6 separate regions of the Homo sapiens genome follow, and all the other regions are linked to region 4. The links are contacts of gene promoters, found by promoter capture Hi-C in blood cells and fetal thymus (Javierre and others, 2016). All regions are on one chromosome and are shown on one strand. Each heading gives the region's core, a stretch centred on a gene start or on the middle of the fragment in contact. The rest is flanking DNA. Distances are from core to core; before and after follow the strand shown. Region 1 overlaps TMCC1 (transmembrane and coiled-coil domain family 1). Region 2 has its middle 22 kb from the start of TRH. Region 3 holds the start of TRH (thyrotropin releasing hormone). Region 4 holds the start of PLXND1 (plexin D1). Region 5 overlaps TMCC1 (transmembrane and coiled-coil domain family 1). Region 6 has its middle 17 kb from the start of TRH.

Region 1 (2,700 bases), core at 90-2,589, 280 kb after region 4:
CCTGGCCAACATGGTGAAACCGTTTCTACAAAAAAAAAAAAAATTAGCCAGGTGTGGTGTGTGCACCTGTAATCCCAGCTACTCGGGAGGCTGAGGCAGGAGAATCCCTGGAACCCGGGAGGCGGAGGTTGCAGTGAGCCGAGATCACACCACTGCACTCCAGCCTGGGAGACAGAGTGAGACTCCGTCTCAAATAAAATAAAATAAACAAAAAAAACCCCAAAAGGCCAGGTATTATGATTCCATTTATGTGACATGTTTAGAATAGGCAAACCCATAGGACAAAAATCAGACTGTGGTTGCCAGGGAACAAAGAGAGGGACTGCTTAATAGGTATGGGGTTTCTTTTTGGGGTGATGAAAATGTTCTAGAGTTTGGCAGCGGTGGTGGCTGCACATGTTACACTGTGAATGAACTAAAAGCCACTTAACCGTAGATTTAAAATGGTTAACTACATATTTCAAATCATAAATTGTATTTTATAGGAATTTTACCTTAAGAAAAAAAAAAATACTGGGCTAGGTGCACTGGCTCATGCCTGTAATCCCAGCACTTTGGGAGGCCAAGGAGGGCGGATCATGAGGTCAAGAGATCGAGACCACCCTGGCCAACATGGGGGAATCCCGTCTCTATTAAAAATACAAAAATTAGCTGGGCATGGTGGCATGAGCCTGTAGTCCCAGCTACTCAGGAGGCTGAGGCAGAAGAATCACTTGAACCCGGGAGGTGGAGGCTGCAGTGAGCCAAGATCGCGCCACTGCACTCCAACCTGGCGACAGAGCAAGACTCCGTCTCTCAAAAAAAAAAAAAAAACAACAAAAAAGAACTTCTAAATGTTATTTATCTTGTACCTGTATCTCCTCCACTCCTTAACAAAATACTGTGAGCATTAAAAAAAAGACCACTCAAAAACACTTTTTAAAATATAATATATTGACATTCTAAAAAAGGCAAAACTATAGAGACAGTTAAAAGATCAGTGAGGTTGCCAGAGGCTGGTGTGAGGGAAGTAAATCAGTGAGAGACAAACTTTCTAGAGCTGTGGAACTAATCTGTATGATACTGTAATGTTAAACATAAAATACTAGAAGCTGTCAAAACCCATAGAAATTTATATCACAAAGAATAAACTTTAATGTGTGCAAATTCTTAAGTAATTAGGAGATAAAGGTAGCTCAGCAAAAAATGCAGAATGTGACAAAATCTAAATCTATCACAAATACACGAGACGACTTCAGGAAGTAAGTAGGGAAAGCTGCTGACCTAAAAAACATTAGAAATGAGTGCTGTCTATAAAACTAAAGGCAAAAAGAACTATCTGTAAGTCTCTAGTTGATAAACTAGTTTCCCACAGGTATACAGATTAACAGTTCTGAAACCACTATACGTGTATGCTGGAATGGAATAATTAATTCTGGCAGATGGTGGGAGGCAGGTTTTTCACTGATGAAGCAGGAGGTTACATATAAGCAAGGTAAGGTTAGAATGATACATGTGGTAATGAATTAGAGTTGGAGACATCACGAAGTCATGTTTAGCTTAATAAAGACACAGTTACATATAGAAACATATATAGATATGTGTATATACACAGGTTAATATGTACACATATATCTCCTTCCTCCGTCCCTTGAGAGGGCCTAGAAGATACAACACTTCAGTACCAACAAGCACACCTATCACCCAGATCTTGGTTTGTAACACCATTCTTCAATAAAAGGTACCAGGGCTCCTTGAGAAATGACTGATTACAGGACTGGAGCAGAAAATATACAAGATGAACCTTAAGAGCATCTTATGTTGCCAGAAAGGAAGAAAGTACACACACAATGATGGAGATATGTCAAAGAGAAAGGATACAGGAGCCAACTTAAAGAGCTCCCAATGGCCAAAGCTGAAATAATTTAGCAATGAAATTTAAGTAGATACACCACCCTTAAGGAGGTAGAACATAACTCATCACCACTAAGTGTGGGCTGTACATAGTGACAATTTTCCAGAGTACAGTAGGAAAGAGAGGAGGAAAGAGTAACTTTGCAGAAAACAAACTCTGCCTCAAGCCAGATGAGCAGGGTTAACATCAACACTGATAAGTCATACTGGTAGTATACATCCCTAATATGTGATGAGAATGACACTTTAGCCCTGTGGTCTTCCTTCCAAAAGCATATTACATTCTTGGCCTAACCACAATGAAAACATCAGATAAATCCCAAAGAACGTTCTATAAAAATACCTGACCACGGCTGGACACAGTGACTCACGCCTGTAATCCCAGCACTTTAGGAAGCTGAGGAGGGTGGATTGCTTGGTTCTAGGAGTTCGAGACCAGCCTGGGCACCATGGTGAAACCCCATCTCTACAAAAAGTACAAAAATTAGCAGAGCATGATGGCACACATCTCTGGGCCCAGCTACTCCGGACATTGAGGTCAGAGGATCACTTGACCCCAGAGTGTTGAGGCTGCAGTGAGATGAGATCGTTCCACTGCACTCCAGTCTTGGTGACAGAGGGAGATCCTGTCTCAAAAAAACAAACAAACAAAACCTGACCAGTAATGTTCAAAACTGCCAAGGTCACTAAATACAGGGAAAGTCTGAGAAATTGTCACAACCAAGAGGAGCTAAGGAGACATAATTACTAAATGTAATGTGGTATTGTGGATGGGATCCTGGGATAGTGAAAGAACATTAAGGAAAA
Region 2 (2,700 bases), core at 197-2,696, 390 kb after region 4:
CTCAGGGCAAGGATGAATGTGTGGCTGCTTCCTTTGGGTGGTGCAAGCCCAGATATGAGCCCAGGATGATCACAGGCCGAGAAAGGGAGCAGGGAAGCCATGGGAAGGGTGGTACCATGAGGCCATCACTCCACAATCACCCTCGTGGCTGCTCTGGAGGTACACCCACCTTACACAGAACACCTCCAGGAGGACTGCAAGGAGAAATCCAGTCTCAGATAGTCCAGAGAAAGATGGAAGGAGAGGGGGTTTATCTACCTGGATCCCTCCTGTCTCCTGGGTCTCATTAGTCAACCTTGGTTCTGTGGCCAATGAACGATAAATTCTTTTGTACTTCTGGCATCATTTGGTCATTTTGGGGGCTCTGAGGTCTTTCCATCCCACACCCTGTGGGGTGTGTTTCAAATACGGATGTAAGTCTTATTATTACTCAAGTACAGTGAGACCAACAGCTCAGGAGACGACTGCCACAGAAAAGAGTTTGTTACTCACAGGTCCCAAGAGGAGGGGGCATGCCATGCCAGGAAGAGCCACAAGGAGAGGCATGAGGGTCAATCAGGAGGCAGAGGGTGTGAGGGGCAAATGGGGCAAGATCCTTTACTTTAGTTTCCAGGTGAGGCAGGGTAAACAGGCTTAGGATTGGCTAGATTGAATAATTTCAGCAGGCTTTGGGGCATAGCGGCTGACCCTAGATGCTTGGTACCTGGCCCTGGAGTGATTAGGGCAGGAGAATAGTGGCCTGGAGTGAAAGAGCCCAGAGATAAAGGGGGTGGTGCGGGTGGGGGCTGTGCATTGATTAGTTTGCATGTTAAATGCACACTTACAGGCCAGTCCTTTACTATCTCTTGGCCATCCCTGGGAGGAGCAATCCCTCCAGGGTTACCAAGACCCCAGATGTCAAAGCATCAGAAACATAGAAGATAGAAAGGTATCATTAATACAGGGAAGAACCAGAAACTCTGGGCATGAGCTGGTGGATCTAGCTGCACTGTGGTGGCCAAGGGGGAGGGTCCTGCACACCCAGCAGGGACAATGTCCTCTGCCTATTGCGACTTCTTTGACCCAGCTCCTCCTACTCTCCCCTCATTCACACCATCCTCCTTAGCCTCCTTGCTGTTTCTGGAACATGCCAGGCAACAGGGACCAGGGCTGTAACTTTCCAGATCATTTTCTCTACATTTGTACACAGCCACATGCACATATATTTGCACACTATTGTCTCAAGACTTTTCTGATACCACCGCACATCTTAGAGCTGTCCTCATGTCAGTCGTTAGATATTTCCCTTGTTCTTTTTAATCACTATAATGGTTGACGCATGGGTGCATCAAAAGTCACTTATGCACACCCCTATGGATGGATATTTAGGTTATTTTCAGCACTTCCTGATTATAAACAACGCCATCATAAGCAGTCTTGCTCCTGTCTTTGTATAGACATGCGAGTTTCTGTGGGATAGAACACCTACAAGCAAAATTGCTAGGACAATGGGCATGGGTAGTTAACATTTTCACAAATACTGCCAACTGCTCCATAGAAAGCCGCTCCCAATTTATACACCCACCCATAGTGAGTGAGGTTTCAGAGAACTCATTGCTCCACACCATTTCCAACAACAGCTATTTTCAGTGATTAATCTTTTTGAAATCAATCTATTTTTTCTTTTTCTTTTTCTTTTTAGAGGTGGAGTCTCACTCTGTCACCCAGGCTGGAGTGCAGTGGTGAGATCTCAGCTCACCGTAGCCTCCACCTCCTGGGTTCAAGCGATTCTCCTGCCTCAGCCTCCCGAGTAGCTGGGATTACAGGTGCACCCACCACGCCCGGCTAATTTTTTTTTTTTTGAGACGGAGTTTTGCTCTTGTTGCCCAGGCTGGAGTGTGATGGCGTGATCTTGGCTCACTGCAACCTCCACCTTTTGGGTTCTAATGATTCTCCTGCCTCAGCCTCTTGAGCAGCTGGGATTACAGGCATGCGCCACCATGCCCAGCTAATTTTGTATTTTTAGTAGAGACGAGGTTTCTCCATGTTGGTCAGGCTGGTCTTGAACTCCTGACCTCAGGTGATCCACCCACCTCGGCCTCCCAAAGTGCTGGGATTACAGGCATGAGCCACTGCACCTGGCCTTAATTTTTGTATTTTTAGTAAAGACAGGGTTTCACCATTGTTGGCCAGGCTGGTCACAAACTCCTGACCTCAAGTGATATAGCTTGCCTCAGCCTCCCAAAGTGCTGGGATTACAGGTGTGAGCCACCACGCCTGGCTGAAATGAAATCAACTTCCTTCCTTCCTTCTTCTTTCCTTCCTTCCCTCCCTCCTTTCTCCCTTTCTTTCTTTTCTTTTTCTTTCTTTCTTTCTTTTTCTTCCTTTCTTTCTTTCCTTCTCTTTCCTTTCTTTTTCTTTCTTTCTGACTTTCCTTCCTTCCTTCTTTCTCTTTCTTTCTGACTTTCCTTCCTTCTTTCTCTCTTTTTCTCTCTCTCTTTCTCTCTTTTTCTTTCTCCTTCCTTCTTTTCTTTCTTTCTTTTCCTTCTCTTGCTCTGTTGCCCAGGCTGGAGTGGCTGGCACGATCTTGGCTCAAGCCAATCTCAGGTTCAAGCCATTCTCCTGCCTCAGCCTCCCAAGTAGCTGGGACTACAGGCACGCACCACTATGCCTAACTATGAAATCAGCCTATTTCTGGTAGCCACTCTATTTGATTCCAAA
Region 3 (2,700 bases), core at 33-2,532, 370 kb after region 4:
GTCAACAGATCTCCAGAGGTGGTGCAGAAACGACCCCGCGCCGGCGCCCCATCCTGCGGCCAGTGCCTCCGCGCCCCGGCTCCGGTCCCCACCGTCCCCGCCCCAGATTTCCGGAGGAGCAGGCGGGCGGGGTCCCGCGGGGCCGGCTGCCGTCAGCGCCCCTTCCCGGCGGCCGCGACCCCTCCCCGCTGACCTCACTCGAGCCGCCGCCTGGCGCAGATATAAGCGGCGGCCCATCTGAAGAGGGCTCGGCAGGCGCCCGGGGTCCTCAGCGCTGCAGACTCCTGACCTGCCGACTGCGGATCCCGAGTCCCCGGATCCCGGACCCATCCTGTGGAGCCCACTCCTGGCAGGTAACCGCCCCAACCCCTCTCCTTCCGCAGACGGTGTCCGGGAGCACTGGAAAGGGAGCCCTCTCGGCCCGCCCTCACCTTCGGTTCTCTGAGAGCTTCCTGGAGAACAGGGCCGGTGCACAGGCGGGCGCTGTGCTCGCACCCCCGGGTCCTCCCCGAGCGCAGGCCGGGGACCCGACGGGAGGCACGGCGCGGGCACATCGGAGGCTCTCGCTGCTGGGCACTCAGGTCGCCAGAGTCCGCAGCGCGGGGTGGGAGCTCCGCGGCACCCCCTGCCTGGGTGCCGCCGGACAGAGCTGGGTATTCAGGGCGTCGGCCTGAGAACCTGGGAGTTCGAATCCCAATCTCAACGCTAGAAATAGAATTTTAGCGTTGAAGTTAGGATTTTAGCGTTAGAATCAGATTCCTGGCTTAGTCATGAAAGCTTAGCATTAGAAATAGAATCTTAGCTTTGCAAATAGACTTTGAGCTTTAGAACCTGAATCTTAGCGATAGAAATGGGATCTTCGCGTTGGAATGAGGACGTCGGCCACGGAGCTTGGAGTTAGAACGTGGCGATGGGGACCTTTGGGGGAGTCTTGGCGGGGACGCAACCGTTAGCGTCGCGGCTGTGCCTGGCGCTGCAATCTCAATGGTTGCACTCCCGGCGAGGCAGTCCCAGCGTTGGCTTCCCCAGTTCCGCGTCACATTGAAGGGTGGCGGTGGCGCTGGCGATGGGGTTCCTACGGCCTCCTGCCTTGCGCAAGCAGAACTGGGCGCAGGCACTACAGGCACCCGTGGGGGCGAGGACGCCTAGAGGTGACAGGTGTGGACGCAGAGCCGGGGCGAACCCGCCGCTGCTCCCGCCCCTGCACGAGGGGCAGTGGTCCTGCTTCTGGGAGGGCGGTTGAACTGTGCGTGGTTTGTTTCTGGCGGGCGTCGGGGGAGATGGAGCGGGATGTGCTGTGATTCGGTGCGCTCAGGCTCCCTCTGTCCCCTAACCCAGACGCCGCGATGCCCGGCCCTTGGTTGCTGCTCGCTCTGGCTTTGACCCTGAACCTGACCGGTGTCCCCGGCGGCCGTGCTCAGCCAGAGGCGGCCCAGCAGGAGGCAGTGACGGCCGCGGAGCATCCGGGCCTGGATGACTTCCTGCGCCAGGTGGAGCGCCTCCTCTTCCTCCGGGAAAACATCCAGCGGCTGCAAGGGGACCAGGGTGAGCACTCCGGTGAGTGGATGGGGCTGTTGGGGGCTGTGGGGCTAGGCTATTGGGAGAGCCGTGGAAACCTGCCGGCAAAGGGGAGGGGAGGCTTGGTCAGCTAGCCTTCTGCCTTTCGGAAGCTCAGAAACCCTCCCTGGCTGCGCCTAGGCGGGATCTGGAGTTGACCATTCCTCGGGGTCAGATTCCTCCCCTGTCTCAATGCTGGGAATATTTCACAGAGAGCAGGCCCTGGGTGGGGAAGCTTCTGTGTGCTAGGGAGAGAGTTTCTTTGTGTGTGACAGTTTGAATTACTACTGTCTAGGCACTTCTGTGCCAGACACTATTCCAAGCACTTCAAACACCTTATCACACTGTTTGATCTTCCTAACAACCTCTTAGTTAGGTACTGTTATTACGATTTTACACAGAAGAAAACTGAGGCTCCCAGAGATCAATTGAGTCGCTTATGGTCAGACAACTAGGGAGCGCCAGAGCTGGGATTGGAACCCAGAGGCAATGCCTTTGACTATTGTGTGAATGTGTGTATCTGTGAGGCCTGAGGGGCAGGTGCAAGACCATGCCTCTGAGTGGGAGCTGCAGGAAATGTACCCTGCCTGGGAGAAAAGCAGGAGTGGGCACTCAGGCGCCTGCCTATTACATGGGTCAGGGGCCCCTCACTGACCTCTTTCCTTCCCCAGCGTCCCAGATCTTTCAATCTGACTGGCTCTCCAAACGTCAGCATCCAGGCAAAAGAGAGGAGGAGGAGGAAGAGGGAGTTGAAGAAGAGGAAGAGGAAGAAGGGGGGGCTGTGGGACCCCACAAACGGCAGCACCCTGGCCGACGAGAAGATGAGGCTTCATGGTCAGTCGATGTAACCCAGCACAAGCGGCAGCATCCTGGCCGGCGCTCCCCCTGGCTTGCATATGCTGTCCCGAAGCGGCAGCACCCAGGCAGAAGGCTGGCAGATCCCAAGGCTCAAAGGAGCTGGGAAGAAGAGGAGGAGGAGGAAGAGAGAGAGGAAGACCTGATGCCTGAAAAACGCCAGCATCCGGGCAAGAGGGCCCTGGGAGGCCCCTGTGGGCCCCAGGGAGCCTATGGTCAAGCGGGCCTTCTGCTGGGGCTCCTGGATGACCTGAGTAGGAGCCAGGGAGCTGAGGAAAAGCGGCAGCA
Region 4 (2,700 bases), core at 125-2,624:
GCCGCCGCCGCCACCGCCCGGGTGTACCTGGATGTTGAGCTTGCGCTCACAGGCCGGTCCCGTGCCCTGCACCACGCTGTCGAGCACCGCCACCACGTCGGGCGCCGGTTCCACGAAGCAGGCGGTGCGCGCAGCTCGGATGGCGGCTCGCACGTCGGCGAAGCGGAAGGCGCAGAGTGCGGCCGGAGCAGCGCGGGCCGCGGGGGACCCCTGGGGCCGCTCGAAGACAGCAAAGAGCCGCTCCCGGGCTGGGAAGACCGACACCAGGCGGCTGTAGAGGTCGCCGCGGCCCGCGCCGCCCGCGCACTGCAAGCCCAACTGGATGTAGGACTCGGTGAGCTTCTTGGCGTCGCCGCCGGCGCCGTGGGGCAGGCAGATGCGCGCCAGCAGGCTCCGCGCCTGGCTCTCCTTGTCGCCCGCGCGCGCCTCGCTGTTGAGCGCCAGGTACGCGTAGGACTGTGCACCCGGCGGCGGGTCGGACGGGTGCAGGAAGGCGCTCACGAAGCCCAGCTTGTGCTGCTCCTTGGCGCCCTGCTTGATCTTGAGGATGTTGTCGTCGGAGGGGTTGAGGTCGAAGGTGAAGAGCTTGGCCAGGTCGCCGCGCGTGTCCAGGGAGCGGATGGCGATCTCGGGCGTGTTCTCGAAGCGGTGGTCCTCCAGGCTGCGGTTGCGCGGGAAGAAGGAGCTGCCGTAACCGGTGTACGTGGCGCCCACGAGCAGGCGGCTGCCCCCCGCGCCCGCGGCGGGAGGCAGAACTAGCCCCACGGTGGACGCGTTCGGGTGGTTGGCCGCCACGTTCAGCATGCTGGGGAACACCGTGACGGGCTCGGCGGGCGGCGCGGCGGGCGGGAAGCGCACGGCCACGGCCGAGATGTTGCCCCGGCGCCGCAGCTGGCAGAAGCCCTGGTAGATGGACCCGCACACGACTACCAGGCCCTGGCCGGGGTCCAGCTGCAGGATCTTGTTGTAGTTGTCCGTGAGGCGCCGCGGGTGCTCGCACGAGGCCTGCGGCAGCTGCGGAGCGTGACACAGCGGGCTGTCGGGCACCGGGCCCACGGCCGCCTCGGCCTCCAGGCTCAGGTTGGCGCCCGACAGCTGATAGAGGCGGTTGACGGCCGCCAGGTACACGGTCCCCGCCGCGCCGTCCAGGGCGAAGTTGTTGGTGGGCGTGGGCGAGGGGAACCGACGCTGGATCTCCAGGGCGCCGGCCCGCGCCGCCCCCAGGAGCAGCAGCAACAGCAGCGGCACCGGGCACCGCGGCGGCGTCTGGAACGGCGGGGGGCTGGCGGCGGCGGCCCGGGCGCTAAGGGGTGCGCCGCCCGCGGCGCGAGGAGCCATCCGGGCGTGCGCGGGCTGCGCGGCGCGGCGAGTGCATGGGGCGAGGCGCGGCCGGGAGCCGGGAGCCCGGAGGCGGCGGGAGGCGGGGGGCGGGCCCGGGCCGCGATGCGCTTCCTGCCCGCGCCAGCCGCCCCCGACCCCGGCGCCCGGGCCCGGGTCAGCCTCGCCGCGCAGCCCGGGGGCGGGGCGGGGGCGGCTCCGCTGCGGACACGCCCTCACTCCCCGCCCCGGCCCCGCCCGCCCCCGGGACCCCCGCCTGCCCCTGGCCGCCCTGGGCCACGCCCCGCCGTCCGCGGGTCCCGCCGCCCGCGCCCTCCAGGACCCGCCCGCGGCCCCAGGGTCCCTCCCCGTAGCCGCCGCCGCCGTCGCTCGCTCTCCTCGCTCTTTCCTCCCACTTGGCCGCTTGGCCTGCCTCGCTCGCGCCTGTTTTCTCTTTTCCGCCCTCTCCCCCACCCCGTCTCTCCCTCTCTCTGCGTCTCTCGGTCTCTGCGTCTCTCCGTCTCTGTCCCCACCCCAAACTCCGCGCGTGTGGCGCTTCTCCGGGTTCTGCCTCTGCTTCTCCTTCTCCCTCCGACTCCGCTTCGCTCTCCAGTCCCTGGCAGCCCCGCCCCCGGCCCTTTCTAGTCTCCTTCTCTCTCCTGCTCCGTTTTTCCGTCCCTGACGCTCGCTCCCTCTCTCCGTGGCTCCCTCTGCCTCCCCCTCGGACCCTCCGTCCCTCTCTCGGTCCCTCTGAGCTCCCCTTTCCTTCTCCCTCTGCCTTCCCGAACCCTGTGTCTCCCCTCCACACTCAGCCTCCCTCCACCACCTTTCTCAGGCACTGTCCAGGCCTTCGCTCCCCCGGTGCCGGCCAGTCGGGCCCCCCAGACCCCATAATCTGTCCCCCAAACCCCAGACCCATAAAAGGGATTTACAAGTGGCAGGGCCAGAGGGACCAGTGCTCAGGGTCAGATATATAAATGAGGAAAACATGGAGAGAGGAAATAGTTCCAGCCAGTGGCCCACAACCGATAGCCAGAGCAAGGCCTTGGTCCTGGAGCCCACAGTTGCCTCCTGTGGAGACCCAGCCGCACCCCCACCCCTGGCACCCCCGCCAGGCACTTTCCCTGACATCCTCCCAGGCTTAGTGGAAGATTAGTCCCACAAAAGCCGGCACTGGGCAGGGTTCTTGATCTCAAAAGCAGCGTTAGGGGCAGGCAGCCTGGTTCCAAGGTCACAGCCCTGTGAGGACCATGCGCCGTGGCTGTTTTGCGGGGGTGCTCACACAGGGCTAGCCCGTGCCAGACACTGTGCCAAGCACTTGCCATGTACGGGCTCTCTTTTTCCTCACAGATTCCCCCGAGGCGAGCGCTATTGGTAACCCAT
Region 5 (2,700 bases), core at 88-2,587, 260 kb after region 4:
TAAAAAAAAAAAAACACTTCTTCATTTCCTTTGTTTCAATTCTACCTCTCAAAGTCCACTCTTCATATCTTAAAATGACCTTACTCAAAACTAAGCTTGTCTCCAAAAGGTCAGCAAATGGGTAGGGCGGGCTAGTCTCACAAACACAGAAACACAAATGTACGATTCAAGTATCTCCATGCTTTCATCCATGTTATTTTTCATACTTGCAATGATAGCCTTCTTCTTCAACATTACAAATAGAGAACACAGATCAAATCCTCCTGTAATCGCTTCAACAGTCACCTATTCTCTTCCTTCTTTATATTTCCATAATACAAACCATATGGCCTTCAATAGCTAGTTTTCCTGTTTTCCTCTTTCCACACTGGCTTCTTGAAGTGCCATATCAAATCTAAATTCCTTAACAATACCATTAGTATTCAATAAATGCTAATTCAGTGATAGGTTTAAATCTGTCTCTAAATTAAAAAATTATCTAGTCCTAACCTGGTGTGGGTAGAAAATCTAATGTAACTCTACCAGAGTAAAGAAAGAACATATAGCCAAGCAAATAACTGAAGCCACAGAAGGTGGCTTATTTCACAACACTTCCCAGTTCATCCTATCTGGTGACTGCATTGGCTTATTTTCAAGAAACTGACTTTAAGGCCATAGTAGAAATAAGTTTTTAAAAAATAAGACCAGAATAAACTGAGTCACTGAGTCAGAGCTACAAGACAAGTGATTCTAAAGATGACGACAGATGAAGACTCTAGGTCACACAGATAGTTTGTGGCATACAAACGCTAGAACAGAGGCTTCTAACTTCTAGAAGAGTAACATATTTATTGTGTGCCTAATACGTGCCAAGAACTCTGCTAGGCACTACGTTAGACTAGTACCCATTCTTGTACATCAAGATACTTCCCATAGATGTTCTAAAACATTTAAAATATTAATTTAAGGCTCACATTCTAAGGAAATCCCTGTGTTACAAGAAGACAACGCCCACATCTCTAACAAATACATTAAAACAGGCAGGCAGAGGGGGGAAAAACCATACAAGCAGGAAAGAATTTGGAATTCCAAACAATTTACTCTTCCTTTTCTGGCTATGAAAATTCGCATACTATTGTTTACCAATAAAGAGATTAAGACCACCAAAAGGCATTTCTACCCAAATTTCATGACCCAACAGTTTGGAAAAAATGAACATTATTCCTGGCAGAAAAAAATTATCTGTTTTTGTCACATCACATGCAGAGCCATCTGAGAATAAATGTCTAAGCAAAAAAAGAAACAATACTGGAATTTGATAAAGACTCCTCAGGAATATGGCATTTAGCTGTTTCTTTTCTTTTCTTTTTTGAGATAGAGTCTTGCTCTGTTGCCCAGGCTTGAGTGCAGTGGCGCAATCTTGGCTCACTGCAACCTCCACCTCCTGGGTTCAAGTGATTCTCCTGCCTTAGTCTCCCAAGGAGCTGGGATCACAGGTGCACACCATCATGCCCAGCTAATTTTTGTATTTTTAGTAGTGACGGGGTTTCACCATGTTGGCCAGGCTGGTCCTCGGACTCCTGACCTCAAGTGATCCACCCACCTTGGCCTTCCAAAGTGCTAGGATTACAGGCGTGAGCCACTGCGCCCAGCCTAGCTGTTTCAATGGAACCTTTCATCAAAGGATCTCAAAACAAATGTTACTGACATTACCAATAATCAAATTGGTGACCCTATGGCTACAGAAAGAAATATATCAATGACCTAAGGAATTCAATACTGATATTCTGAAACCCAGCCCTCTGTTCTAAAAACAAAATCTAGTTTTATGTATAGTAGTGTGCTATAAGAAACATACATATTTGGTCTTTGTCCTTGATTCCTGGCAGAGCTCCTAAAACCCTTAGGTTTTCCTCAATAACAGAAGCGCTTTTTGTTATTCATAATGTATTCCTTTCAACCACACCTGAGTTTATACTAATTAGGTGACTCTTGGTGGGCCTCTAGATAGCTTCAGGATAGGGCTGGTTGCCAGGGGAACCAACCAAGCGATTAGAGTATTGGAACTTTTAGTCCTCCACTCCTCAACCTTTGGGGAAGAGAGAGGAACTGGGGACTGACTAAATGATGGGGTTTGGAAAGATTCCCAGGTAGTGAATACATGGAGGTGCTGGGAGGGTTTTGTGCCCAGAGAGGACATGAAAGCCTCACACCCCTCCCCCATAGCTTGCCCTATGTATTTATTTCATTTAGCTGTTCCTGAGTTGTACCCTTTATAATAAATTGATAAACATAAGTGTTTTCCTGAGTTCTATGAGTCTTTCCAGTGAATTAACGAACCTGAGGAAGGGGTCACGAGAACCCCTGAATTTGCAGCCAAGCCAGACAGAAGTGTGGGTGGCCCAAGACTTGTGACTAGCATCTCAAGCAGCAGCAGTCTTTTGGGACTGAGCCCTTTAACTTGAGATCTGACACTAACTCCAGGTAGACAGTGTCAGAATTGAATGGAATTGTTGAACACTCAGTGTCATAGAACTGAAGGTGAATTAGGTGTGGTATGGAAAAACCCCCATAGGTAGTAATTCTTGGGATATATTTGTAAAGCTTGATGATACAAATGTATTTGTTGATATAACCTCCCAACTTACCTTGATGCACATGTACAAATAGAAAACCCAAAAATGTAAGCAATGCTGTCAAGAACAGTTGCCACTAAAAATA
Region 6 (2,700 bases), core at 8-2,507, 350 kb after region 4:
AGTCAGGAGCCAGGCGATCAATGGCCGGCCTTGCCTGGGCGAGCTCTCTGCTCATTACAAGTGCCTGCCACCTCCGCGTCCCTCCTATCCAAGGACAGCTTGGTGGGGACCTAATTCAGAGAAGGAATGAAACAGCCAGGAGTCTGCTTCTCTCACCCCCTTCCTGTCCATGCCCCCATCTGCCCAGAGCCAGAGACCTTACTGCTCATACTGTTCTCAGGAGATAGTTAAGGTCTCCTGCCTGGAGACCTCAACATTCCCCTCTAGGGCATCTTGACGGTTCTGCCCAGTCATATCCTCAGCTGGTCACTTAGCCTAAACATCTACCATTAGTCCAGATGGCAACCACCTGTCTATTAGGTACTAATTGTGTGGCAGGTGGCTTACATCTCAATCAACCTCACCCAATCTCTGTGGTAGGAACTACAATGAGGTCAACTTGATAGAGAAGAAACTGAGGAGCAAATAAGTCACTTCTCCTGGAGAATAGTTGGGCTAGAGTCAGGCTGGCCTTATTCCCAGGGCTCTCTGCACTCGGAGGCTATCAAAATAGTCTCCAAATTCAAGCACCCTTTTGTCTGGTGCTCAACAGAAGAAATCCTGGGGTTTTGATGAAGAGATAGGCAAATAGAACTATTAATTTATTCTTTCATTCATTCTTTACTTCAGCATCTATTAAGTGGTAGGCTCTGTTCTAGATGAAGGGATAGAGCAGTCACCAAAAGAAATTCCCTGCTCCCAGAGTTTCCAATCTAGTGGCCCAGAGAGGTGACATCACTTGCCTCAGGTCAAACAGCCAGAAAGTAGCCATAACCAGAGGCAGAAGGGGTGATCATAGGGAGAGGTCTGATCTGACTCCCTAGGATCAGGCCAGCCAAGGCATGGAGGGCAGGACATACCTTGGCAACAGGCTGGCCAGGGTTCCAATCCCACTACTGCTATGTCCTCATCATGCAACTCTGGGAAAACCACTTTGCTTTTTTGAGCCTGTTTTCTTGTGGGTGGAATGGGGATAGTTAGAACCATGGTTGAAACAGGCCCTGAGAGGATGAAACAGGCCCTGGTAAATGTTGGGGACTGGCCTTCCCTTTCTCCTTCCAGGGAGGGTTGCAGGCTTCTTCCACCTCCTCTGTGAGCAACCTTGGCCTCAGTCAACCCTCATGAATGTGGAAGAGATCTGAGTGTACTGTGGCCTGATCAGCCACCTCTGCTTCCTGTATCTCATCAGCTTGCTCCTAGGGTCCTTGGGCATGGAGTGGCAAAGTTCTACAGCACATAAAGCACAAATTATTTAAAAAATATTAAAGAGATAATTGTGGTGTGTGGAGAATAGATTGGAGGTGGGGGGCATATCTGTCAGCTATTTCACAATAATGCCACATAACAAGCCACCCCAAAACCCAGTGGTTTCAAACAATGATCATCTCATCTCATAGGCCTGCAGACAAGTTGGAGTGGCTCTGCTCCAACTGTATCTGATTCTCCTCCCAGCAGCAGCGGGTGAGCCAAGGCATGTTCCAGTGGCCATGGCAGAAGCACAAGAGGGCGAGTGAAAATGCTCTTAAATCCCAGGTGGGGGCCCACTTATGCTCCATCCTGTTGACCAGTGCCATTCAATAGCCAAGGCCAAGGTTAAGGGAGACGGAAATCTATCCATCCCATTGGCAGAGGTGTGGCTGCAGGAAGAGGTGAAGAATTGGGACTAATTTTCAATATACCACAGGAGGAGGTGAGGAAGAAGTATGTCTACTTAAGAGGCCCCCATAGACATCCAGGTGAGTGAGGATGGACCAGACTGGCAGCAGTGGCAGTGATGAGAAATATCTGTTGACTGAATGAATGCTCAGACCCTTAATTCCACCTTGACCCTTAATTCCACTCCTAGGAATTCATGCTAATAACATAAACTAAACTGTGAAGATGTTCATTACAGCATTGCTTATAATAATAAAATATGGATACAACTTAAATGTGCATGAAATGTAACTCCTAAATTCTAGCATCTTAGAAAATGTAATAGAAAGAGACTGCTTTGGACTGGCGTGGTGGCTTACACCGGTAATCCCAGCACTTTGGGAGGCTGAGGCAGGAGGATCACTTGAGGACAGGAGTTTGAGACCAGCCTGGGCAACACAGCAAGACCTGTCTCTGCAAAAAATAAAAAAATTAGCCAAGTGTGGTGATGTGTACCTGTAGTCCCAGCTACTCGGGAGGCTGAAGCAAGAAGATCACTTGAGCCCAGGAGTTTGAGGTTATAGTGAGCTATAATTGTACCACTGCACTCTAGCCTGGGTGACAGAGTGAGACCCTATCTGAAAAGAAAGAGAGAGAAGAAAGAAATAAAAAGAGAAAGAAAGAATGAAAGAAAGAAAGAAGAAAGAAAGAAAGAGGGAGAGGAGACTGGACTGTGGAGTCAGATAGACCTGAGTTTGAATCCCAGCTCTATTGCTTTTGAGACGTGTGACCCTGAGAAAATCACCTCACCTCTCTGAGCCTCAGGTGTGGAGGAAGGAAAAGTCACGACTTTGTAGAGGAGGACAGAAAAAGTTCACTGGCATTAGAACAGGCTTCCTAGACAAGTGGGAGTCAAGCTGGGGAAGGAGGGATATGACTTGGAGAGGCAGATGGAGAAGGTAGGCGCCCCAGATGGGAGGGACATGCGTCCAAAGGTGCTGGTGGCAGGAACAACGTGGCACGTCT

Evidence for each region. Contacts are between HindIII fragments. The CHiCAGO score rates a contact against its expected background, and 5 or more counts as called.
Region 1: a fragment that was not itself captured here is called in contact with the fragment with the promoter of PLXND1 in region 4 in 8 of 17 cell types (M1 macrophages, M0 macrophages, M2 macrophages and 5 more); the score reaches 8.2 in M1 macrophages.
Region 2: a fragment that was not itself captured here is called in contact with the fragment with the promoter of PLXND1 in region 4 in 8 of 17 cell types (naive CD8 T cells, total B cells, neutrophils and 5 more); the score reaches 6.7 in naive CD8 T cells.
Region 3: a contact is called between a fragment that was not itself captured here and the fragment with the promoter of PLXND1 in region 4, in 6 of 17 cell types (total CD8 T cells, naive CD4 T cells, naive CD8 T cells and 3 more). The highest score is 5.9, in total CD8 T cells.
Region 5: a contact is called between a fragment that was not itself captured here and the fragment with the promoter of PLXND1 in region 4, in 2 of 17 cell types (M1 macrophages and M0 macrophages). The highest score is 5.9, in M1 macrophages.
Region 6: a contact is called between a fragment that was not itself captured here and the fragment with the promoter of PLXND1 in region 4, in 2 of 17 cell types (neutrophils and naive CD4 T cells). The highest score is 5.9, in neutrophils.

The regions. Positions count from the first base shown.
Region 1 is chr3:129,886,746-129,889,445 of GRCh38, forward strand. The region is part of intron 1 of TMCC1 (transmembrane and coiled-coil domain family 1); the gene reads right to left. Among named protein-coding and RNA genes, the nearest start is that of TMCC1, 5.6 kb to the right of the region's middle. The HindIII fragment of the contact is 3,283 bases long and covers 1-2,700 here.
Region 2 is chr3:129,995,764-129,998,463 of GRCh38, forward strand. It overlaps the pseudogene LOC124906284 and the pseudogene RPS17P9. Among named protein-coding and RNA genes, the nearest start is that of TRH, 22 kb to the left of the region's middle. The HindIII fragment of the contact is 3,275 bases long and covers 1-2,700 here.
Region 3 is chr3:129,974,471-129,977,170 of GRCh38, forward strand. TRH (thyrotropin releasing hormone) reads left to right here and starts at 250. Exons shown (of 3, transcript NM_007117.5): 1 at 250-353; 2 at 1,339-1,557; 3 at 2,229-2,700. The coding sequence starts at 1,347. It also overlaps the pseudogene LOC124906284. The HindIII fragment of the contact is 1,015 bases long and covers 776-1,790 here.
Region 4 is chr3:129,605,302-129,608,001 of GRCh38, forward strand. It overlaps PLXND1 (plexin D1), which reads right to left and starts at 1,375. Exons shown (of 36, transcript NM_015103.3): 1 at 28-1,375. The coding sequence starts at 1,338. RefSeq lists enhancers at 1-611, 1,604-2,596, 2,597-2,700 and silencers at 1,334-1,393, 1,544-1,703. The HindIII fragment of the contact is 18,333 bases long and covers 1-2,700 here.
Region 5 is chr3:129,867,107-129,869,806 of GRCh38, forward strand. All of the region lies in intron 2 of TMCC1 (transmembrane and coiled-coil domain family 1), which reads right to left. Among named protein-coding and RNA genes, the nearest start is that of TMCC1, 25 kb to the right of the region's middle. The HindIII fragment of the contact is 2,488 bases long and covers 94-2,581 here.
Region 6 is chr3:129,955,979-129,958,678 of GRCh38, forward strand. No RefSeq gene overlaps it. Among named protein-coding and RNA genes, the nearest start is that of TRH, 17 kb to the right of the region's middle. The HindIII fragment of the contact is 5,965 bases long and covers 1-2,700 here.